6 separate regions of the Homo sapiens genome follow, and regions 2, 3, 4, 5 and 6 are each linked to region 1. The links are contacts of gene promoters, found by promoter capture Hi-C in blood cells and fetal thymus (Javierre and others, 2016). All regions are on one chromosome and are shown on one strand. The core of a region is centred on a gene start or on the middle of the fragment in contact, and the rest is flanking DNA. Distances in the headings are between cores, read along the strand shown. Region 1 holds the start of BFSP2 (beaded filament structural protein 2). Region 2 overlaps NPHP3-AS1 (NPHP3 antisense RNA 1). Region 3 overlaps NPHP3-AS1 (NPHP3 antisense RNA 1). Region 4 overlaps NPHP3-AS1 (NPHP3 antisense RNA 1). Region 5 overlaps NPHP3-AS1 (NPHP3 antisense RNA 1). Region 6 overlaps NPHP3-AS1 (NPHP3 antisense RNA 1).

What was found. The method cuts DNA at HindIII sites, captures the fragments that hold promoters and counts their contacts. A CHiCAGO score of 5 or more calls a contact.
Region 2: a contact is called between a fragment that was not itself captured here and the fragment with the promoter of BFSP2 in region 1, in 4 of 17 cell types (endothelial precursors, M1 macrophages, erythroblasts and 1 more). The highest score is 7.7, in endothelial precursors.
Region 3: a contact is called between a fragment that was not itself captured here and the fragment with the promoter of BFSP2 in region 1, in 2 of 17 cell types (megakaryocytes and M2 macrophages). The highest score is 5.3, in megakaryocytes.
Region 4: a fragment that was not itself captured here is called in contact with the fragment with the promoter of BFSP2 in region 1 in 2 of 17 cell types (erythroblasts and endothelial precursors); the score reaches 5.8 in erythroblasts.
Region 5: a contact is called between a fragment that was not itself captured here and the fragment with the promoter of BFSP2 in region 1, in 1 of 17 cell types (megakaryocytes). The highest score is 8.4, in megakaryocytes.
Region 6: a fragment that was not itself captured here is called in contact with the fragment with the promoter of BFSP2 in region 1 in 1 of 17 cell types (megakaryocytes); the score reaches 6.3 in megakaryocytes.

Annotation. Positions count from the first base shown.
Region 1 is chr3:133,398,349-133,402,061 of GRCh38, reverse strand. BFSP2 (beaded filament structural protein 2) reads right to left here and starts at 2,006. Exons shown (of 7, transcript NM_003571.4): 1 at 1,490-2,006. The coding sequence starts at 1,978. The HindIII fragment of the contact is 8,153 bases long and covers 1-3,713 here.
Region 2 is chr3:132,787,251-132,790,963 of GRCh38, reverse strand. All of the region lies in intron 3 of NPHP3-AS1 (NPHP3 antisense RNA 1), which reads right to left. The region is part of intron 2 of LOC105374115 (a long non-coding RNA gene); the gene reads left to right. Among named protein-coding and RNA genes, the nearest start is that of NPHP3-ACAD11, 67 kb to the right of the region's middle. The HindIII fragment of the contact is 1,458 bases long and covers 898-2,355 here.
Region 3 is chr3:132,804,694-132,808,406 of GRCh38, reverse strand. The region is part of intron 5 of NPHP3-AS1 (NPHP3 antisense RNA 1); the gene reads right to left. LOC105374115 (a long non-coding RNA gene) reads left to right here and starts at 3,692. Exons shown (of 3, transcript XR_924500.3): 1 at 3,692-3,713. The HindIII fragment of the contact is 1,096 bases long and covers 1,369-2,464 here.
Region 4 is chr3:132,821,730-132,825,442 of GRCh38, reverse strand. The region is part of intron 8 of NPHP3-AS1 (NPHP3 antisense RNA 1); the gene reads right to left. Among named protein-coding and RNA genes, the nearest start is that of NPHP3-ACAD11, 100 kb to the right of the region's middle. The HindIII fragment of the contact is 821 bases long and covers 1,605-2,425 here.
Region 5 is chr3:132,838,796-132,842,508 of GRCh38, reverse strand. All of the region lies in intron 9 of NPHP3-AS1 (NPHP3 antisense RNA 1), which reads right to left. Among named protein-coding and RNA genes, the nearest start is that of NPHP3-ACAD11, 120 kb to the right of the region's middle. The HindIII fragment of the contact is 1,521 bases long and covers 1,390-2,910 here.
Region 6 is chr3:132,866,510-132,870,222 of GRCh38, reverse strand. The region is part of intron 10 of NPHP3-AS1 (NPHP3 antisense RNA 1); the gene reads right to left. Among named protein-coding and RNA genes, the nearest start is that of NPHP3-ACAD11, 150 kb to the right of the region's middle. The HindIII fragment of the contact is 750 bases long and covers 1,185-1,934 here.

The DNA of each region.
Region 1 (3,713 bases), core at 757-3,256:
GGAATGGCTGCCTCTTAGATTTGACAGGCGTTAAGGCCCTGGACTGTTCTAAGATGGCTCTCCCTTGCAGCCCAGATGGATGCAAGCAGAACAGCAGCACCAGGGGGAGAGCCTGAGAGGATGGTGCTGTTCATCATGCACTCTGTGCTGTCAGTGGGCACTGACAGCAGTGCAGGAGAAGCATCCTGGGATGAAGTGGGAGGCAGGAGGGGCAAATGGGGAGTCCCTGTGTGCAACTGCTTAGCTTCCCCCAGCTATACACAAATAAAATTTTGTGACCTCCTCTTGGGAGGCTGCATACTGGACTCCAGGGGGCCAAGGGTCTGAGTTGGCAGTCCCTGGTGGGTTAGAGACTGATTTTGCTCAGAGGGATCCCAAGGCCAGCATCTGGAGAGAAAGAGGAGGAGGAGAGGTGAAGCCAGCTATCCACAGAGAGACCAGCTGAGAGGTGTAATGCTGGCTGGAGTCCCAGCATTAGAACTACAGGCTGCAGGCCAGACATGATGGATGTGCTCCAGACTCCGCAGAAATCACCCTGGAGAGTGGGAAAAGCAGGGCTGACCAAGCAAGGGAGAAAGATGAAACCTCTGCATCCTTCCCTGTCCAATAAGATAGCCATTAGCTACCTGTGGCTGTTTACATTTAAATTAATGAAAATTAGATAAAATAAAAATGCAATTCCTCAGTCTCATTAGCCACATTTCAAGTGCTTGATAGCCATATATGGCTAGTGGCTGCCAGATTGGACAGTGCAGATATAAGATATTAATATTTCCATCACGCAGAAAGCTCTACTTGAATGTAAATTACCTCATTAATATATTTTGTATTGATTACATGTTGAAATAACATTCTGGACATATAGAGTTAAATAAGCTATAATATTAACTTCACCTGCTTCTTTTTACGTGTTTTACTGTGGGTAATAGAAACTTGTCAATTACCAATGTAGTTCATATTTCTATTGAACAGCGTGGTTGTAGGTGGATACAGGAACACACCTCCATTTATTCATTGTTCTTAACACCTCATCCATCCAATGGTATTTGATTGGATAATAGCTGTAAAAATCCCTTCTCAACAGTAAAGGTGACTGAGGCAGCCCCAGGGTAATGGGGCAAATGCAACTTTGGAGGCACAAAAATTCAGGTTCAAATCTCATCTCCATCCCTCTACTAGCTTTGAAGTCTTGGGCAAATTACATGCCTCAGTTTCTCATCTGAAAAATGCAATCAGTGAATGATCCACTGCATAGCATTTCTTTGAAGTTTAAAGAAGACAGTGGGTAGTGCACGTATGGGGGCTAGCGTGGGCTCCTAGTAAACCTCGGTAAAAGGTAGCATTGTTGTTATCATTACCATTTTAAGTGTGAAAGTGTAGGGGATTATGGTCAGTTTCTCTGGCCTCAGCCTACTCACAACCCTACCCGCTGCCTTCAGCAGCCCCTCCCAGCCCTCTGCAAAGCCCTTGGCACAGCCTGGACACTTACCTGCTGGCAGCTGCTGGCCCAGGAAGCCCGTAGGGCACCCCAGTTTCCCGAGCGTGTGGCTTTGCTCTCCAGGTGCATCCGCAGTTGTGTTTCCAGCTCCTGACTGACTTGCTCAAGGGCGTGCACTTTGGCCATATATTCCACCAGGCAGCCCCCTAGGTCCTCAACAGCACCATGGTCCCTCTCCAAACCTGGAGCCGGCACGGTGGCCAGGCCTGAGCTCCGCAGGCCCTGAAGGAAGACACTGCTGATGCCGAGGGCCCGGCGGGTCACACGGGCACCCAAGCCACCTATGCACCCACTGGGTGCTGTTCCTACATAGACCCCGGGTGCTCGGACAAGGCCACTCATGGCATTGGTCCTGGAGGCTGGGGGGCTCTCCAGGGAGGATGATGACCGTGGCCCCCTGAAGGACGCCCTGCGCCTCTGGAGGGGCATGCTGGAGCTGGCACTGGTGGGCAAGTCCACTACCACTCGCCTCTCACTCATCACCCCTTCTGCCTCTGTGGTGCCCAGTGGGTTTACAGAGTCCAGTGGCTTTTGGTTTACAGCCCCAGCATCCCTGTGGCCTGGTCACGGGCCTCTCTGGAATCTCCCCTATCCCTGGGGCTGCTTTGTCTGCTGTCTTCCATGAGTTTCCATCATTCACTGAGCTGAAAGAGAAATGGGCACTGCCCAGGGCTGTGTGCAGAGAGGCACTCATGCATTCTTTGATGCAGGGTCATGTGCCCAACCTCCCAGATTATTCTGCTGGTGGTGGGGGAGGCTGGATCAGTGCAGGCTGTGGAGGTAGACCATTTGGGTTTGTGCATTTTACTACCTAAGTGGGCAAGGCAGGCATCAAGCAACCCCATTTTACAGATGAGTAAACTGAGGCTCAAGGACCTCAGATGACAAGTGTACTGATCACTTGCCCCAGACCTCAGATTACAAGCTAGGACTCAATCTAGCTATTTCAGGGCTTTCTACATCCCTATGTGTGCTGGCACATGTGAATGTGAACACATGTCCACACAGGCAATAGAGGATGAAAAATGGCAGGAGGCAGCTCCAGGGACCCAAGAGAAAAGACTTGCCTATGGTTTCCTCTCTCAGTCCTGGCAGCAGCTTCAGGTCCTTCCCTCACCTCTCTCCTTTCCTCCTCATCTCTGTCCTCTAATGCTCTGCTGTTCATCAGCTGCTTGCTGTTGGCCAGGATGCTTCCTCCCTCTGGACCTCACTGTCTGAACATTGGCTTGGGCCTTTAACTCTCTGATGCACCAGATAAGGACCTTGGGCAAATTCAGATCCCACACATGTTCCGGCCATTCCCTACACCTCTGCTTCTCCATCTGTTGGAAAACTGAGAAATAAAAACAACAACGAGGGTGTTTTCTGGTAAGCCTCTCCAAGGGTGCCCCAAGTTAGGATATGATGACACCCCTGGGTTTTAATTATTGACCTTGGCATCCACTAAGCCACCAAGGGTCACACCTCAATCACTTCTCTAGGATCAGAAAGGTTCCCCCAGTTACAGGATGACAACATGGACCTAAAAACCTCTGTACATAAGTTTTACCCTGGAGAAACCAGGTCACCAAACCCCAGAGCTGGATACTTTTCCAGATGCTGTAATGTAGGAATGTACCTCAGGTGAGAGAAGGAGAAGGGAGTCAATCTCTAGTGAGTAGCAGATCCAGCCTGGTGTGTGCATGAATCCTATGGTTTATTTCGTGGAATTCTCAACTCAACCTCAGGAGGAAGGAGGTCCAGGGTTGACAGGTACTGCCATATGGGCTGTGTACCTCACAGCTCTAAAATGACATGTCCTACAGTTGGCCACTGTCCTCTTATGTGAGGAGGACCCCGAGAGCTGCAATGACTTGCCCAAGGTTCTATGTCCAGAAAGTAGCAGAGCTGGGGGCAGACAACCTCTTCCAAACTCTGGGCCACTGACTTACTTAGGAGCCTCCCTGTTGCCCACCACCCAGAGAGCAGAGTACCTACCTGAGGTCACGCAGGTAGAGGTAAAAAACCTGGTCGCCTACTAGAGGACCCTGTGTGCACTTCCTTCCTACTGACCAGGACACTCCAACCCTTCCTTTCTTTATTGTCTTCCACTTTGTCTCTCTGAGATGGCCTGGGAGGTATTTTATAAATATCAGTGTTGGCTATTTGATGAACAGATGAAAGAACCAATTGGATTAAGTAAAGGCCAGTAGTGTCCTTGTTTATTCAGATGTAG
Region 2 (3,713 bases), core at 377-2,876, 610 kb after region 1:
GAGGAGAGAGCTCATTTTGTGAGGCTATTTTAGAGTTCCAGGCAAGATAGAATGGTGTATGAACTTAGAGGGAAGGCAGCATGTATATGGGAAAAATGAATGTGTTTAAGATCTGCTTGAGAAGTTGAATGGAATAGCAGCTCTTGCATGCAATATCCTTAAACTCTACTACAAGACGGGAGAAGGTAATAAGTTGTGTTCGACAATGTTCAACCCATTATCTGTTGAGAGGATGCAGCAAACAACAGTAACAGTACCTTCCCCTATGTCAGAATCAGCACCATTTGAGCAGAAAAGTCTGGAGGAGATAGAGGTTACGGGGAAAGCTGGGCTTGAGTCAGAAAGCTGTAGCCCAATTGGGTGGGTGACCGTGTACTCACTCAAATATGTTGTACCAGAAGGGATAGAGGCTGATTAGCTAGCAACTTTGAAACCTAATAAATTAGGACTTTCCCCAGACAGGATCTAAGCACTATGGGGGAGGAAGTGGTTCTCTAATAATTTTATCTTTTGCCAAATCTTGTTAGTTATTAATAACAATAGCAAGAGAAAGAAGAGCTAATATTATAGAGCTGCTTGTACCAGAGTCCTGTGCTAAGGAAGGTGTATGTGTTCTCCCATTTAAGCTTATGAGAGCCCTGTGAGATGGGTACAACTGCCCTTGTTTACTAACACTAAGGCTTAGAGATTAGCACCCTGTCCAAGATCATATCTCTCGTAACTACAGTAGTTACTCAAACCCAGCTCTGTCCTGACTCCTGAGTCAAGGCTCCTACCAATGTAGTCTCGTGCTGTATGGAGGATTCCAAAGATGCTTTGGGGCTCAGCAGGGCAATGTCAGATGGGTACAGTCTGACAAGTCATTTATTTGCCACCTCCGTACCAGAACTAAAAGCTTCTAAAGTATACAGATTCTAGCCAGGCATGGTGGCATGTGCCTGTACTCCCAGCTACTCAGGCGTCTGAGATGGGAGGATCGCTTGAGCCCTGGGAGGTCGAGGCTGCAGTGAGCCATGATTGTGCTACTGTACTCCAGCATGGGTGACAGAGTGAGACCCTGTTTCAAGAAAAATGACAGATAGATAGATAGATAGATAGATAGATAGATAGATTCTATCTAAATAATAGTAGATGCTAGGATTATGCCTCTTTCAGCTAGCTGTCTTACTGTATCTGTTATCAGTCCATAACAATGTCCTATAAAAATTATAATGTACTGTTACAAATTTTTTTTCTTATTTGAAGCTGTATGCAATCCATAGTGATTTATCTTTTAGAATAAGGCAGCAATGGTTATAAGGCACTCACTTTACAGTAAGCGATCCTCCCATTTTCAAGATGATTAAAAAATTAAAAAACACAAATAAAGCATGTACAAGATTTTTAAAGTTAAACACACACACACACACACACACACACACACACACACACTACCATAGACTGGGTGGCTAATGAACAACAGAAATTTATTTCTCACAGTTCTGAGATTAGATGCCTGAGACCAGGGTGCCAGCATGGTGGAACTCTGGTGAGCTCCTTTTTCAGGGTTGCAGACTGCTGATCCTTGCTGTATCCTTTTATGGTGGAGAGCAGAGAGCAGTAAGCAGCAAGCTCTCTAATGACTCCTATAAGGGCATTAGTCCCATAGACCTCTTTTTTTTTTGAGACAGAGTCTCGCTATGTTGCCCAGGCTGGAGTGCAGTGGCACGATCTCAGCTCACTGCAAGCTCTGCCTCCCGGGTTCATGCCATTCTCCTGCCTCAGCCTCTCTAGTAGCTGGGACTACAGGCGCCTGCCACCACGCCCGGCTAATTTTTTGTATTTTTAGTAGAGACGGGGTTTCACAGTGTTAGCCAGGATGGTCTCGATCTCCTGACCTTGTGATCCACCCGCTCGGCCTCCCAAAGTGCTGGGATTACAGGTGTGAGCCACAGCGCCCAGCCCCCATAGACCTCTTCTAATTTAAATTACCTCCCAAAGGCCCTACCTCCTAATACCATAACATTGTGGATAGGGTTTCAACATATGAGTTTTGGGGGAACAGATACACACCTCAAAATAATAACAGCCATCTATGACTGTGTGGGTACACAGTAGGTGTATATATTTATGGGGTGCATTTGTTATAGACTAAGATATCATATTCCTATTCTAATGGCTGGCTGTATTTTCCAAGGCAATTAACTCAAAAGAATATTATTTAAAGAATCTGGTATATGAGGGCCTCTAGACACCTTGACACGAAACTTCTAAAAACATAATGCAAGATGAAAAACCTTTGAAAGCCTCTTCTCTTCAGAGCTGAACTGAGGAGTCACATCAGGCTAGAAAATGGTTCTGGGACTAAGCCAAGCTTTGAGCTGTCAGAGGAAAGGCTACATTGAAACAGAATTGCATCATCTCTGGGAACTCAGTGTTAACTGGTATAAACCAACATTATTGTTCTTAAATGTTCTCATGAGAAAAGAACATTTAAACTACTAATGTGATTTTCTTCTCCTCACACTCTTTCCTTATCCCAGGGAGGAAAATATTTATCCTTCTTACATAATTTGCTCTTCCTTATGTTGCCAAATGCCTTGTGATAGTATTACACTTGACAGATATCTTATTGAGAAGTTGCCAGCAACCAAAAGATAATTAGCTTAGTCTTCCAAGCATATAAAAAACCAGAGTGGACTATGCACAATAAATTGGAAATAGTGTCTAACTCCTCATATTTCAACGAAATTCACTGGGGTTATGAACAATTCTGCATCTTAAAGAATGCTTTGTGCAATAGAATTTTTTGCTGAAAGGAGATAAGCCCTTATTTATAAGAGGATAGAAGTAGAGAAGGACTACACAGTTGTCTTTGTCAGCTTGGAGTGCCATAACAAAATATGATAGACTGAGTGGCTTGAACAACAACTTTTTATTTCTCGGAGTTTTGCAGACTGGAAGTCTGAGATCAGGGTGCCAGCTGATTTGGTGGCTAGTGAGGGCCCTCTTCCAAGGTTGCTTCTCCTTGTAAAATCATGTGGAGAAAAGAGGGTGAGCTAGCTTTCTTATAAGGGAACTAATTCCACTCCTCAGGGTTCCACCCTCATGATCTAATTAGCTCTCAAAGGCCCCATCTGCAAATACTGTCACACTGGGGATTAGATTTCAACATATGAACTTGGGGGAGACACAAACATTCAGTCCATAGCAACAGGGAATCAACAAACATTTGTGAGATGTCCACTTGGTCAGGCACAGTGCCAAACTCCAAGAATATAAAGAAGGGTGAGACCTAAGGAAATTAACAGTCTCACAAAGAGAGGAGAGGGGATTTTGTACAGCAACTCTTGCAGTGAGCAAAAAGAGATCAGTTTAAAAACAAAACCCATATGATCATCTCAATTGACACAGAAAAAGCATTCAATAAAATCCAAAATCCCTTCATGATAAAAACCCTCAATGAACTGGACATCAAAGGAATACACCTCAAAATAATAACAGCCATCTATGACAAACCCATAGCCAACATCCCATACTGAAGGTTAAAAAGCTGGAACAAGACAAGAATGTCACTTTGGGAGGCTGAGGCAGGCAGATCACTTGGGGTCAGGAGTTCAGTACCATCCTGGCCAACATGGTGACACCTCATCTCTACAGAAAACACAAAAATTAGCAGGCTGTGGTGGTGCGCATCTGTGGTCCCAACTACTCGGGAGGCTGAGGCACAAGAA
Region 3 (3,713 bases), core at 667-3,166, 590 kb after region 1:
ATATCTACAACTATCTGATCTTTGACAAACCTGACAAAAACAAGCAATGGGGAAAGGATTCCCTATTTAATAAATGGTGCTGGGAAAACTGGCTAGCCATATGTAGAAAGCTGAAACTGGATCCCTTCCTTACACCTTATACAAAAATCAATTCAAGATGGATTAAAGATTTAAACGTTAAACCTAAAACCATAAAAACCCTAGAAGAAAACCTAGGCATTACCATTCAGGACATAGGCGTGGGCAAGGACTTCATGTCCAAAACACCAAAAGCAATGGCAACAAAAGACAAAATTGACAAATGGGATCTAATTAAACTAAAGAGCTTCTGCACAGCAAAAGAAACTACCATCAGAGTGAACAGGCAACCTACAACATGGGAGAAAATTTTCGCAACCTACTCATCTGACAAAGGGCTAATATCCAGAATCTACAATGAACTCAAACAAATTTACAAGAAAAAAACAAACAACCCCATCAAAAAGTGGGCGAAGGACATGAACAGACACTTCTCAAAAGAAGACATTTATGCAGCCAAAAAACACATGAAGAAATGCTCATCATCACTGGCCATCAGAGAAATGCAAATCAAAACCACTATGAGATATCATCTCACACCAGTTAGAATGGCAATCATTAAAAAGTCAGGAAACAACAGGTGCTGGAGAGGCTGCGGAGAAATAGGAACACTTTTACACTGTTGGTGGGACTGTAAACTAGTTCAACCATTGTGGAAGTCAGTGTGGCGATTCCTCAGGGATCTAGAACTAGAAATACCATTTGACCCAGCCATCCCATTACTGGGTATATACCCAAATGAGTATAAATCATGCTGCTATAAAGACACATGCACACGTATGTTTATTGTGGCACTATTCACAATAGCAAAGACTTGGAACCAACTCAAATGTCCAACAATGATAGACTGGATTAAGAAAATGTGGCACATATACACCATGGAATACTATGCAGCCATAAAAAATGATGAGTTCATATCCTTTGTAGGGACATGGATGAAATTGGAAACCATCATTCTCAGTAAACTATCGCAAGAACAAAAAACCAAACACCGCATATTCTCACTCATAGGTGGGAATTGAACAATGAGATCACATGGACACAGGAAGGGGAATATCACACTCTGGGGACTGTGGTGGGGTCGGGGGAGGGGGGAGGGATAGCATTGGGAGATATACCTAATGCTAGATGACACATTAGTGGGTGCAGCGCACCAGCATGGCACATGTATACATATGTAACTAACCTGCACAATGTGCACATGTACCCTAAAACTTAGAGTATAATAAAAAAAAAAAAAGAAAGAAAAATATGAACATTAGCTGAATTATAAACCTAAATGCAAAAGCTTCTAGTGTCTGCAATGCCAAGGAGAAGGATATGAGTCCTAGTTATCTAGGCCCAGTCAAGACAAAAATAACTAATCCAAGTTTCAACAGCCGTAACTATCAGCACCAAACATGAACAGAACACCCAGGGATGGAGCCTGAAGCTCAAGTGCAAGTGGCAGCTGGGACCAAGCACTCTCTAGCTAAGACCAGAGACGATCCAAGAGAAACTGAAGGGACACTTTTTTTGTCTCTGAGACTATCATGCCACACAAGTGACATTTTTTCTTTATTATACCCAAGTAGCATTTTGGAGAGGAAAAGAGGGATGAAGAAGAAATCTGAGATGCTGAGCATTTACATGAAGGGGCCACGTGGTAGAGTAACAGAAATGGCTACTGCCATCCCTTCTTTGAATCTATGCCCTTTGTAACATGACTTTGAAGCTCCTCCCATTGGGCAAATAATCCAGCAGACTGAATAGCAAGAGCAAAGGCCCTAAGGCAAGAAGGAGCTTAGCCGTGTTGAAGAAACACAGAGAAGGCCAGTGTTGCCGAGAAGAGGGTCAGGGGAGTGATATAAGGTGAAGTCTGAGAGGTAAGACAGCAACAGAACACATATAGCTATAACACATATAGCCTTTCAGACTAGGAAATCCCCTGTTAACAGCAGAAGGATCAAAACGTAAACCATGGTAGCCTGCTCTCCCACCGCTGTGTACAGCTGGACCTATTGTTAAAATATTAAAATGCTTTCATTCCAGTTGGTAAATAGCTATTGTGCTGATCTCCCCAAAGTGTCCCAACAGTTCTGGCCAATGATGCCCCTCCACCAGGACACTAAACCTCCCATGATCCTATAATTTAAGGTTTCAGGGCACATAGAGGCCTCTAACACTCTGATCAAGTGTCATGGCCGTATAAGTGATTAAGGATTTCCAACATCACTCCCAGGCAAAAGGCAGAGCATTTCTTTATCTACATCTTAATGAAATTCTGAACAAGCATTAATTCATTTAATGAATAAATATTCGTTAAACTCCAACTATGGGTCAGGAGGTATCACAGGCATTGAGGATGAGTGAGAGTAAACAAACCAGTTTCTGCCCTCGCAAAGCTTAGAGTGTAGCATTCAGGCAAATTATAGCCTTCAGGTAGCAACTTTTAGGCAGTGGTTCTCAACTTGGACTCCAGAATGCCGGCTGGGTTTGGTGGCTCATGCTTGTAATCCCAGCACTTTGGGAGGCTGAGGCAGGAGGATCACTTGAGGTCAGGAGTTTGAGATCAGCCTGGGCAACATAGCAAGAGCCCATCCCTACAAAAATTAACAACAAATAATGAAAAAGTACTGATGCTTGGGTCCCATTTCCAGAGGGTCTGATTTAATTGCTCTGAGGTGTGGCCAGGACGTTGGAAGTTTTTTAAGTTCCCCAGGTGATTCAATGTGCAGCCAGGGCAAAGAACCTCTCTCTTAGAGACATGTGATCTGATGTGGATAACAGATTGAATTTTTAGTAGAATCTACAGATGTAAACCAACGGTTAAGTTTTCGCTGCATGTTAACTAATAAAAAAAATCAAGATGAAAGTGATTTCCTTAAAGATCTTTGTCAAAGAATGCTAAAGGCTGTCTTTGGAGAACGGTGTTCTGTTAAAAGGGCAGTCCTGACCCAACATTAGCCAAGCCAACTAATTGTATTCTGCCAATATATAGCAGAACTCTGGGCTTTTTGAAATTGAATTCCTCAAGAGAAGGAATTTTAAATATGAACTCTCCTCCTACACCCCCTCCCTCCAGACTAGTACCTTCTCAAACTGCATTCCCCACCCAAAACTAGCTATCAGCCTGAGGAATAGGCATATGCTGAGAACTCCATGCCACAGGTAAGGATGACAGCCCCAGGGGTGAAGAACCAAGACCCAGGGTATTGAGACCACTTTTCAGATAGATTTCTTTACTCTCTGTTTTCCAGTTTCTTCCCTACACTGCTCATCAAGTGGCAAATGTTCAGGATGAAATAGAATCAGAAATACCTCCAAAAGGTTTGACCCAATGGAGAGTCCATGGGAACTATGGGAAGGGAAACATACCTCAAATGCTGGGCTGCAGCATAAGTATTTTCTAGATTCTCTGGGTCACAGAGAGGCAGCAAAGCACATTCTAGGGCAACAAATATGCTCAGTGCTAGCTCTTGATTATTCATTCTAATGAAGGGGAACAATCATGTGGGCTTTCCAAAATAGTGGCTGCTTTTAATGAGTGGTTTGGCTTTGACTCTGGAAATCACCACTAGGTAAATCATAAAAGCACCCAGCAAGTTTGAGCATATTTCAGCTGGGCAGTGTGGAATGTGGCCAGGAATGTGAGA
Region 4 (3,713 bases), core at 766-3,265, 580 kb after region 1:
GTACTCCTCCACTACTTTCTTCTGGAAATCACCCCTTCCCATCCTCTGCCCCACTCTATCAAGATGGTAAACTCTAGACTAATCATCTTGCACAAAGTGTCCCTGGCTTCAGTTAATTGGTCCAGGAGAAGATATGTAGGCCAATCACCTCCCATGACCTGTCCTGGCTAGCAGATTGGTTCTAGGGTAAGCATAGTATCCAAGCTGACCACTTAGGGTCCTTCACCAGGGATTTGGCCATTGAAAACAAGGAAGGTCAATCTCTTCCCAGGTGACTGAAATTATAAATGAAAAACTCAGATAGGTTCTGTTAACAGCCATGTTTCCTTCCCATGTGAGCAGAGTATGCCAGTTGAGAGAGTGAGAAAGAAAGAAATGAAGTACAAAATAAAGATAAAGACACAGAAAGGCAAAAGGTGAAGTCAGAGGTCTGCTGAACATTGGCAGCCCAGCCCCACTTCTGCTCTTGAGATCTTTGAGACACCACAGCATCTCTGCTCCAACCACTGTTACTTGGCTTTCTATCATTTGCAACCAAAATAGTTCAAATTAAGGTAATCAATTTCTCAAATTCTTTATCCAACTGGAGTATTAATTAAAGATTTAAAAAAGAACATATGTGCAATCATGGTTCTTATGATTCACCAAAGGAAATAAAGTGATCAAAACTGAACAGAAGGTTGAAGGGATTTCATGATGGATAATTACTCATATAACGCAACCACAAGAAAAGGGGTAATTCCGAGTTTTCTCTAATTTTTGCCTGTGCTTGCAAAAGGATAAAGAAGCCAGAATCCACATGGTATCTACTGGTTACAAAGAAAGGAGCAATAATAGGATAAAAATAATTTGAAGCATGCTATCAAATGAGTTGAAACCCAATTTCTGCATCCCTGATGGGTGGCCAAATTTTAGGGACACCCCTTTTCCAAAGCTCTCTTGTAACATTCTCATACCTTTGAGATTCTGATAGGATCCTATCTTCCCGGGCTAAAAAATAAATTCCTCCTCAAGACATTGATTATGGAAATGGTCATCAGAATTCCTCTCCATGATCATGAGACACTAGAATTTGGAGGGGGGCCAGCTTCACTTAAGAAGGTGTTTTTCTAACCCCCTTCTCTTTTAACCCCCTAAATTCTCCTGATAGCCATTTTGACAATGTTTCAAACTGAACAGGTTTTTAAAGTAAAAAGAAATCATATTATATCATCATTATCAATTCAATCAATCCTTAATTATTTGATGGGAATAAAATGTGAATTATGTCAAGCAGCAGATAATTACAATTTAACTCTTAAACTAGTTTATTTGCTTTGTGGACTTCCCAAGATCTCTTCCCCACCATCATACCACAGGATTCTAGGTTATAAAAGAAGTATCAAGTTGGAAGAAACTTGGAGCTAGGAATAGAAGAGAAGAGTTTTGACTGTCAGTAAATATGGGAGTGGGTGTATCTCAATATCAAAAATACATTATTTTTAGGTAATCTGTCTGTCTTTTTATGTGGATAACTAAATAATTACTAGAACTAGCTTTGTAATGCAGTTATATGCTCAGATATATACATACACACGCACACCTTCACCAAACTGAGAAAAGCTTCTCTTTATGTTTGACTCTCTATTGGTACACTTTAGTAAGAAATGATATGAAACAAGAGAAAATGCTAGCTCCTATTTTATGAGGAAGAATTCTATCTTAGCCTGGATTCCCCCAAAGCAGAGCCTGAGGCAAAAACTTCCTTCCAGATAGTTTATTTTGGAATATGCTTCCCAGGAAGCAAGTGTACAGGACAGGGAAAGCAAAATAGGAAGAAGGCAAAGCTGATACAGGGATGTATTACTGAGTTGGCCACTACTATGAGCAGCCAGTGCTTGGTCTACCAGGATGTGCCAGAGTCTGGTGACCTGCATCTCAGAAGCGTCCATCCTGGGGACAAAAGAGGGAAGGATTTATCTGTCTCCTCCTTTCTCCCACTCAAGGATTTACTCCCCTAAAGTTTTAGAAATTTGAATATCTGTAATTATGGAGCAGAATTCCATGTCTGTGGCACCAGCAAGCCATAAGGCGTGAAACTAGAGGTATATGGCCATGGCATGAGTGCATAACAAGTCTCAGTCTAATTGTACCTGCATGAAGCAGATTCAGTTCTGCAAGAACTAGTAGTCATAAAAGTAGCTTGGTTAAGAAGTAAACCTGAGAAATAGACAAAGTTGTTCAATATAAACAAATAAGGTTGAAATGAATCAAGAGATTCATTTCAAGACAGCTGTTAGGAATTTATCTTATGTCAAAAATGCCATACCTCTGCTCGCAAACATGCACCCATCATCACTGTGTTAACTAAAGAGGGAAGAATAGTTTTCTCTGTATCATCCCTGCCACCAGAGAAAAATGTAGCAGCTCTCATCTAGCACAAGCTTTCAGCATCTGAGAGTGACAAAGACAGATGGCATATTTCTGAAATATAATTTGATTGTTTGGTGGGGACTTGAAAGAGTATCTTGGGTTCAACAAATACAAGATCACACATGGCTAAAAAATATTCAGCAGCAAACTAAAAACAGAATTTAAAAGCTCGAGTAATTATTATTTTGCATGAAAAGCAACTAATAGTCTCCAGGTCAAACCATCCTCAAGGCTTAAAAGCAGCAAGACTCCCATGGGTTTGGCTTAAAATGATCCATGGACCTCATATTTATGTGCATACCCCATAAGAGAGGTACAAAATTAGACAATGTACCCTATACAAAAAGGAGAATTTGTCTTAAGACAAAATCCACTCAAAGCCTCAATATAAAGAACAAAGATGTGACCAAAAGAAAGTTTAAAAAATTGTACATCTTTGCATTTATTCATTTGATCCTTGCTAGTCTTGGCATAAGCCATGACTCTCTGTGAATGAGCCCCTAGAGGAAACTGGGCTATGGTGTTCAGGAAAACAAGGCAACTGGCAGACCTAAGAGAAAGGATTATATTTCCCATAGGATTCCCATGGGAATTTGAGGCTAAACTCTTGGCTTATTTCACTGCAGACAAATATTTTATATATAGTGATCCAAAAGCTCTCCTAGTTGACTCACCAACTTGAACCATGAGCGTCTACCCCAGGTGAGTCCACATTCCTCAACAGGCTGACCACACACTGGAAGCCACAAGATTCACTGCCAAGTGGGCAGCAAATGCCAATAATGTCAGGCTAGTAGGCAGAATTTCCATGGAGAAAGTACTTTATAAATGCTAATGTAATTATCTTAAAAAGTTAACCTCAAGTTTTAAAAAAATTGTCCTCATTAATCATATTCACTATTAAAACTAAGCCATGAGGCTTAATGCCTTGGGAAAGGAGGCAGAGCCACCTAGAACAAAGATGTCTGCAGATGAACAGGAAGAAGGGAATGCCTTAGGGGGTATCCCCAACAGAGAGGGCAGGTCATACCCTATCTGGAGGGGAAAAAAGATTGAGAAGGAAAGAATGTAGGAGGAAGGGTTTGCTTGGTCTCATAAGGGGCCAGTGCTCCCACCCCTCTGCTCCTTAGCTCAGGCAGCAGGAGTGGACGATGAAAGGAGAGAAATGCAAGATAGAGAGAAGGTAATAAAAACAGGATTCAGACATGCCCACAGGCCAATGAGGGGCACAAAAATTGTAGCTGAGAGTAAAGATTACCAGGCTGAAAAAGTAACTCCATGGGGTGGACATGGGCCATGGA
Region 5 (3,713 bases), core at 901-3,400, 560 kb after region 1:
ATGATGAGTTCATGGGTCCAGCACACCAACATGGCACATGTATACCTATTTAACAAACCTGCACATTGTGCACATGTACCCTAGAACTTAAAGTATAATAAATATATATCTGTGTCTTGCTACAGCCTGTATCATTAGTAAGCAGGGGAGTGGAAACACAATCCCTCCTAGCTAGGTCACAATGTCCTCTGGCGCTAAGGGCCTCATGAATCCTTTCCATTGAAGGGTGAGGTGCATTGCAAACTCATGTAAAATATTCCAGGAGGGGGGAAAATGAAAGAGAAAGATGATCTTTCAGAAGCTATTCTCAAATATCTAGCTTGAGAAATGTCAGATCAGATAGTACCCAAGACCTTGAAAAGGGCAAAGAGACAGTGAACTCTGCAGTTACATAACACAAAACTCCCAGTTATCTTTGTTCCTTTTCTCTCTGCTTAGAGATGAGCAGACATCAAAACAGACTGACAATATTGCTACTTGTTTAAAGCTAGAAGTTTAAGAGTAGGCGCCTGTTTGACTTCACATAATAAAACATTAATTGAACTTCACAGTTGAAAACAGTAAGAATATGTTATTTGCATAATGGCGTATGTGTCAGGTCTTCAGTAATTCTTTGATATCAAGACTTGGTGCAGAGCTCCATGGTGATAGTGGCTGGAATGTTTGAAGCAGTGTTTTTCTCAAAGCTTCCTTTGAAAATATAAATTCCAGACTTAATCCTGTGGCTCCTCTGTACTTATGTATGTGATTTGTTGGGAGAAGCACAGTATGCCCTAGTTTTGGCTTGAGCACAATGTCTTAAACCTCTAGCCTATGCAATTTATATTCACCTACAAAGCAAATGGCATACACTTATGCTTAATTGCCTCCTTGTGTTGCCCAGAATTTAGTGTCTGAGTTAATTAGAAATGGATGGCTCTGAGGTAATTCCACTTCAAGAAATTCTCTCTTCCTCTATCCCTAGTACCTCCTTGCTGTCTCTGTGTTCCTGTGGATTGGTGGAGTGAGGGACAACAACATCACTTTGGATGAGTGGAGATAAATACAATAGGAAGTTAGGGTGCTCAAGATAGCAGTCCTAACTCTAGGTCTTCTGGGCAAGAAGATCAAAGGTCCCCCAAAAAAGGATAGCAAGGACTATAGCAGTTGTTTGGGCATGGGTGCCCCTCATCAGTAATAGGTGAAGTGTACTTCTACAGGACACTGGGAGATGGTGGGGACATGGATGCAGCTGTCACATGGCTATGGGCTAAGCTTATAAAGTAGAGAGGTATACTTAAGGGTCCCATGAGGCATCATGGTCTCAAGGACAATTTTTCTTAAAAATGTTAAAATGATCCCAAGATACCTGAAAGTGGAGATGCAGCTACAAGTTATACAAGGTAAGCTTCACCAGAAGAGACAAAAATCACTAGGTTTGGTACAAGTTTAGAATTTAAATTACATGGCTTTTTTATTATTAAAGTTTTATTACTAATGTGTGCTCCTCAGCCACCTTTCCTGTTTCCTGTGGGAACTGACCTCCTCCTAGCAATCCACATAGTAGAGGGGTATCAGGAAAAGGAACCCCTCCATCATGGGCCAGGCAGATCCTTCCTTAGGGATTTGGAATTGCAAGTAGGAGATTCCAGTTGGTCTAGCTCTCCTGTCTTTAATTGAGGAAATGTATGCAAACCTGGGAGCTGCTGGCTGTGACTATTGTGTCATGTGTGCTGAAAAATAGAGACAGGTGGTCTATACCAAGAAAAAATGGAGCAGATGCATGGAGAAAAATGGAGACATGAGACAAAGAGAGAAAATGTTCTGGTTCCCTACAACCTTCCTTTTCTGGATTCCTGAGACTCAACTGTACCCTGCTCTTGGGTTGTCTGAGACACCCTCGAATCCTTATATTTGATCGGGCTTTTACCTAGGCTAATCCCAGTAGGTCTCTGTTATTTGATTCTGCTTGTTTTAAGAGATGCTGAAGAAGTATGTTATTTATATGTGCAATTGTACAGTAACAAGAACAGTGGCACTGTGGAAATAGACTAAAACCACCCAAATGAAAAGAAAGAGGCTATTTATTCAGTTTGGTATAACAAGGGAGTCAGCCACTGTCACTTGTTTTGGGCAGAGTTTCAAAGGCAGGCAGGGGAATAGAAAGGCTTTATTGTGAAAAGAATGGAAGGCTTCACGTGTGTCCTGATTGGAGGTTGTTAGCATGGAGATACTAGAGGTGGGCTAACTAGAAGTGGGACATCTTCTATGATTTGCTTGGGGAACATACTTGACTTTCTCTGCTGGTCCTAAGTTGGAAAAGTGGGGACAAAAATAGGAAAGTTTCCTTCTAGGCCAGTTGCTACAGAGGTTGTGGGTCAAAGTTGTATTGTCATATCTGTGTGGTCTAGCCATTGTCTGTATCTTCAGTCTCTCAGATCACATATTCATGGAGTACCTCTTTTTGTTTCTTTGTTTTTGTTTTTTTAAAGACAGAATCTCACTCTGTTGCCCAGGCTGGAGTACAGTGGTGCAATCACAGCTCACTGTGGTATTTAACTCCTGGACTCAAACGATCCTCCTGCCTCAGCCTCCCAAGTCGTGAGACTACAGGAGTGTGCCACCATGCATGGCTAAATAATAATAATAATTATTATTATTATTATTATTATTATTATTATTATTATTATTTTGGTAGAGATGGGGGTCTTGCTCTGTTGGTCAGGCTGGTCTTGAACTCCCGATCTCTAGTGACCCCCTGTCTCAGCCTTCCAAAGTGCTGAGATTATAGATGCAAACCACTGTGCCCTGTCTTGGCCTCCCAAAGTGATAGGATTACACATGTGAGCCACTGGGCCCCGCCACGTACCTCCTAACTGATAAAACTGACAATCTCACACCTGGCTGCATGTTAGAATAACCCGAGAAGCTTAAAAATACTACCCTAGACCAATCAGACCAGAATCTTTGAGGATGAAGTCCAGACCCCAGTGTTTGTAAATAGTTCTCCAGGCAATTCCAATGCACGGTCCTGGTTAACAAGCAAATACATGAAGAACTGACACATGCCTTGGCAAGGCTGCTGACTTCTCCACTGATCTTCTTTTCTGGAAGATACATGATTAGCAAGGTCTTATAGACATTAGACAGACTGGTAAGACTCAGAAGCCATGAAATAAGAAAAGTGGATTCACCAGGCACAAAGTAGGTGCTTGCTAAATGTGTTCTCTAGAGTGAATGTTCTTCCTAATATTTTCATGCATTTATAAGGCTGTTCCCTGATGGCAAAGCCACCACAATGGTTTAAACAGGAGATTTGGAGGATCTCAATTAATAAAAGGTGTCATTTATTCAGCCCATTCTAGTTTGTAAGCATTATGCTGAGCACTTTGTGTATTATGCCACCTGGACTTTACCATTATACCTCACAAGTTTAAACTGAAATGCAGATTTACCCCAGAGGTACTATTTGCTCCAAAGTTACCATTTTAGATAATCTAATTATTTAATTAACAAACATACATTGAATACCTATATGCCAACATTATTTTAGGTTCTGGGAATATAATAGTGAAAATAATAGACATGGTTTTACCCTCATGGAGCTTAAAGAATAGTGTGAGAGATTAACATTAATAAAATAATCACATGACAGATAATTACAAATTGTATTAGGATTTTGAAGGAAAGGTATAGAGAGCTAATAATTAGCAAACTTTTTCTGTAAAGGATTA
Region 6 (3,713 bases), core at 310-2,809, 530 kb after region 1:
CTTCACCAAACTATTGTGTTTCTAAGAAGTTTGAGCCTTTCTTACCATCACCTTTACCACCTCCAACCCCACCTGATGGAAATCAGATGCTTCTTATGAGGAAAATGGAAGTGCATTGTCCCAGAAGGGAATGGTTGAAGCCTGGTGCTTTGAGTTAGGTGAAACAGAAGAAAGGATGGCACAACCACCAGAGGGAGGTTCTCTGATAACAGAAAGGGTAGCTTAGGGGATTCCTACAAATGGCAGATAAACCCATACCTCAGAGGGAGGATGGTTGAGGGATGTCCTTGGGTCCGGGGCACTAAGTGCCTAACACGAAAAGAGACATGACAGAGCTTCAGTCTGCAAGAAGAGTCCTATGTTAGAGCATCGTGGAAGAAGCAGTCATGGATTTCAGGTAACAGTAACAAAGGTGACCACCAAGAAGAGAGTCAAGTCCTCATTCCTCCCCTACAGTCATGTAAATGCTATAGGTTATCAATATGACCCCAGGGAGAGTAGGGGTTTGTCCTGAAAACGTTACTAAGTTGAATTTGTAACCATCCATGGGGAGTATGGCCCAAGCAAGAATAATTTTTATTTAGAAAAATGTAAAGATGTTTGAATTGTTTTATAATTTAAATTTTTAAATTTGAAATTTTAATTTTAAAAAATAAAAAGAAAATATTATGATGTATTTTGAATCTAGGTGTTGCGGAACAAATTCATACCTACTAAAAATTCAGATTGTCTTCTGAGAGTTAAACTCTAGACCAGGAGTGGGCAAAGTATAGCCCATAAGGGCAAATCTGCCACCTGGTTTTATAAATAAAGTTTTACTGGAACATAACCACACCCAGGCACTTATATATTGTCTATTGCTTTCACACTACAATGTCAGGATTGAGGAGCTGTAACACAGACTGTATGGCCCACAAAACCTAAAATATTTACTGTCTGGTCCTTCACAGAAAAAAAGAACAAAATCTGTCAATCCTTGCACTAGACCAACAGAAAATGGGTGCGGGCAGCCTTCCCCTGAAAGACTCCAGATGGTTTCCCATCAGCAGAACACCTCAGAGCCTTCCTGAGCAGGTGAACAGATTTGAGACCTATGTGTAACATGATTGAAACACTGGATATATATGAGGCGTGGCCTTCTGTCTGAAATCTTTATTACTTCCTGTTTTTGAATTCTAGAAGCTTTTCCTGGAATACCAAGCTACTAGCGTCTCATAGATTGCCACATTTCTAGGTCACCTCATGAACCAGTTGCCATTTTTGATGATTATTTATCACCATTATTGGTCAGTAGTTTTTTAATGCTTCTTATACATTGTATTAGTTAGGGTTCTCTAGAGGGACAAAACTAATGGAATGTACATATATATAGAGAGAGTATTGTATTAGGGTTCTCTAGAGGGACAGAACTAATGGAATATATATATATATATATATATACACACGGGCCTTCCATTACTAGCCCATGTAGGCTGGGAGGCTAGGCCAGTCTCACTTTTCCCATTTTTCTGCTTGCTTATATTCTAGCCATGCTAGCAGCTGATTAGATTGTGCCCACCCAGAGTAAGAGTAGGCACCTTTTCCCAGCCCACTGACTCAAACAGTTAATCTCCTTTGGCAACACCCTCACAGACACACCTGGAATCAATACTTTGTATCCTTCAATCCAGTCAAGTTGACATTCAGTATTAACAATCACATGCATAAAGTACTGTGCTAAGCACTTTATACACATTTCCCACTCAATATTCAAAATAGTCCATTGAGGCAGATGCTACTTTCCCCTACTTTGAGATAAAGAATCGGAGGCCTAGGAAAGGATAGAGAGAAGTGCCAAGGCCATCAGTCTAACAAGTAGCAGAGACAGACTCAGACCTATGTCTGCCTGACTCTAGCTCATATGCTTAGAGCCACGCCTTTTCCAATGTCAAGCTTATTCCTGCTCCCAAGCATTTGTCCATGCTGCAGTTAAAGAAGTGGAAAAAGTCCCTCCCTTTTTCTTTTGTATCTATAACCCAAAGCTTATCTCAAACTCCACTTTCTCCAGGAACCCTTGAAATACTTGTGGTCATTGAACCTCACATCTCTTCACCACCTAAACATAAACCATCTTCTACTACTCTCAAATTGCTCAATATGTGTGAATCATTCTTCTCAACCAATTTTTAAATGTGTGAATCATTCTTCCCAACCAATTTTTAAATGCTCCCAGAGAAGAAATTGTTGCTTAAATTGTTGTTATTATTTTTTTAGAGATGGGGTCTTGCTCTGTCTCCAGGCACTCATGGGCTCAAGCAATCCTCCTGCCTCAGCCTCCCTAGTAGCTAGGACTACAGGCATGCACCACCATGCCTGGCTAATGTTTTAAAAAATTTTCTGTAGAGACAGAGTTTTACTATTTTGCCCAGGCTGGTCATAAACCTTAAATCGTTTTTTAAACATGACCACAGCCCTTGAGTAATTTGTATGCATCCAGAGATACGGTGGAGCTTATATGAAGGTCTGAAGATTGACCTTCTTGTTTGTTGTTGTTATCATTATTTAAGTATCCCAGTTGCTTTCTGGTTTAAAAATAACATTCTCCCACTGGAAGGCAAGACAAATCAGGAAGAGTTTAATCTCATTTGTTGACGTAATCTACTTTCAGACAGAAGAAGTAGGACAAAAGTTTAACTAGTCCTTTGAAAATTTCCTGCTTAGAAACAAAACTATACATATGTGCACACACACACGCATGCACGCACACACACACCCAATAATATGTATGTGTGTATGTATACATATATAAAAACATATACACATATGTATACACAATTATCTAAATGTTTTGTAAAATATTTTTATACTTTATTTAGCTGAAATGAAACAAAAGGTTAACAGTGATTATATCTGGGTAGTAGAAATATGGCTAGTTTTTATTTTCTTCTTTATTCCTTCTTGTATGTCCCAATTTTCTACAGTGAAAATGTGTTAGAGTCAGAAATTAACAATAGGTGATATATTTTTAAATATCCCTGCTTAGTTCCTAAGAGAAATGATAAGTCACAGACACTTGCCAAGATCAGAGTCATGACATTCCTCCAACTACACAATTTTACCAAATATCTTGTTTCTTGCTGGATGTCAAAAAAGTCTGAGAATTCAGTTGGTCTTTGCATGACACTACTGCTTATCATTAAGATTTATCAAACACTCAATCAAGGCTGATCATGAGACTCTGCAATAATTGAGCTAACTAGTTGCATTGTGTCTACTGGTATGGTCTAATCTCATACATTCAAAAGTCAACAGTTCATTCTTAGAAGAGGTTCACACATCGGAAAGTGTTCTAGTAGACCAGCTGAGAGCGAATGGAACACAAAGAAGATATACTTTAATAGGAGAAACATGGAGTAGAGATCTAGGGCCTCAGTGGTGAAGCATTGTCTAGGTAGACTGCATATTGTGAGGAGATCTTTGTGGACACTCCTGGGGACCAAAGCGGTCCCTAAACCCCTAAAGACTTATGGGTCAACTATTGCAATTTTAGGCGTTCTCAAAATATTATGTTAGTTTACTAGTTTCCAAGAGAGATTACTTGAGTTATATGGGCAGTTTTCTCTAGTTTAGGCTTATAAAAAAAAGTTCTTTCTGAGAGAATTAGTTCCCATTCTTCTTGTATATATGTATGTGCCATTTATCCCTGGTGGGGTATTCATGAGGCAGTTCATCAG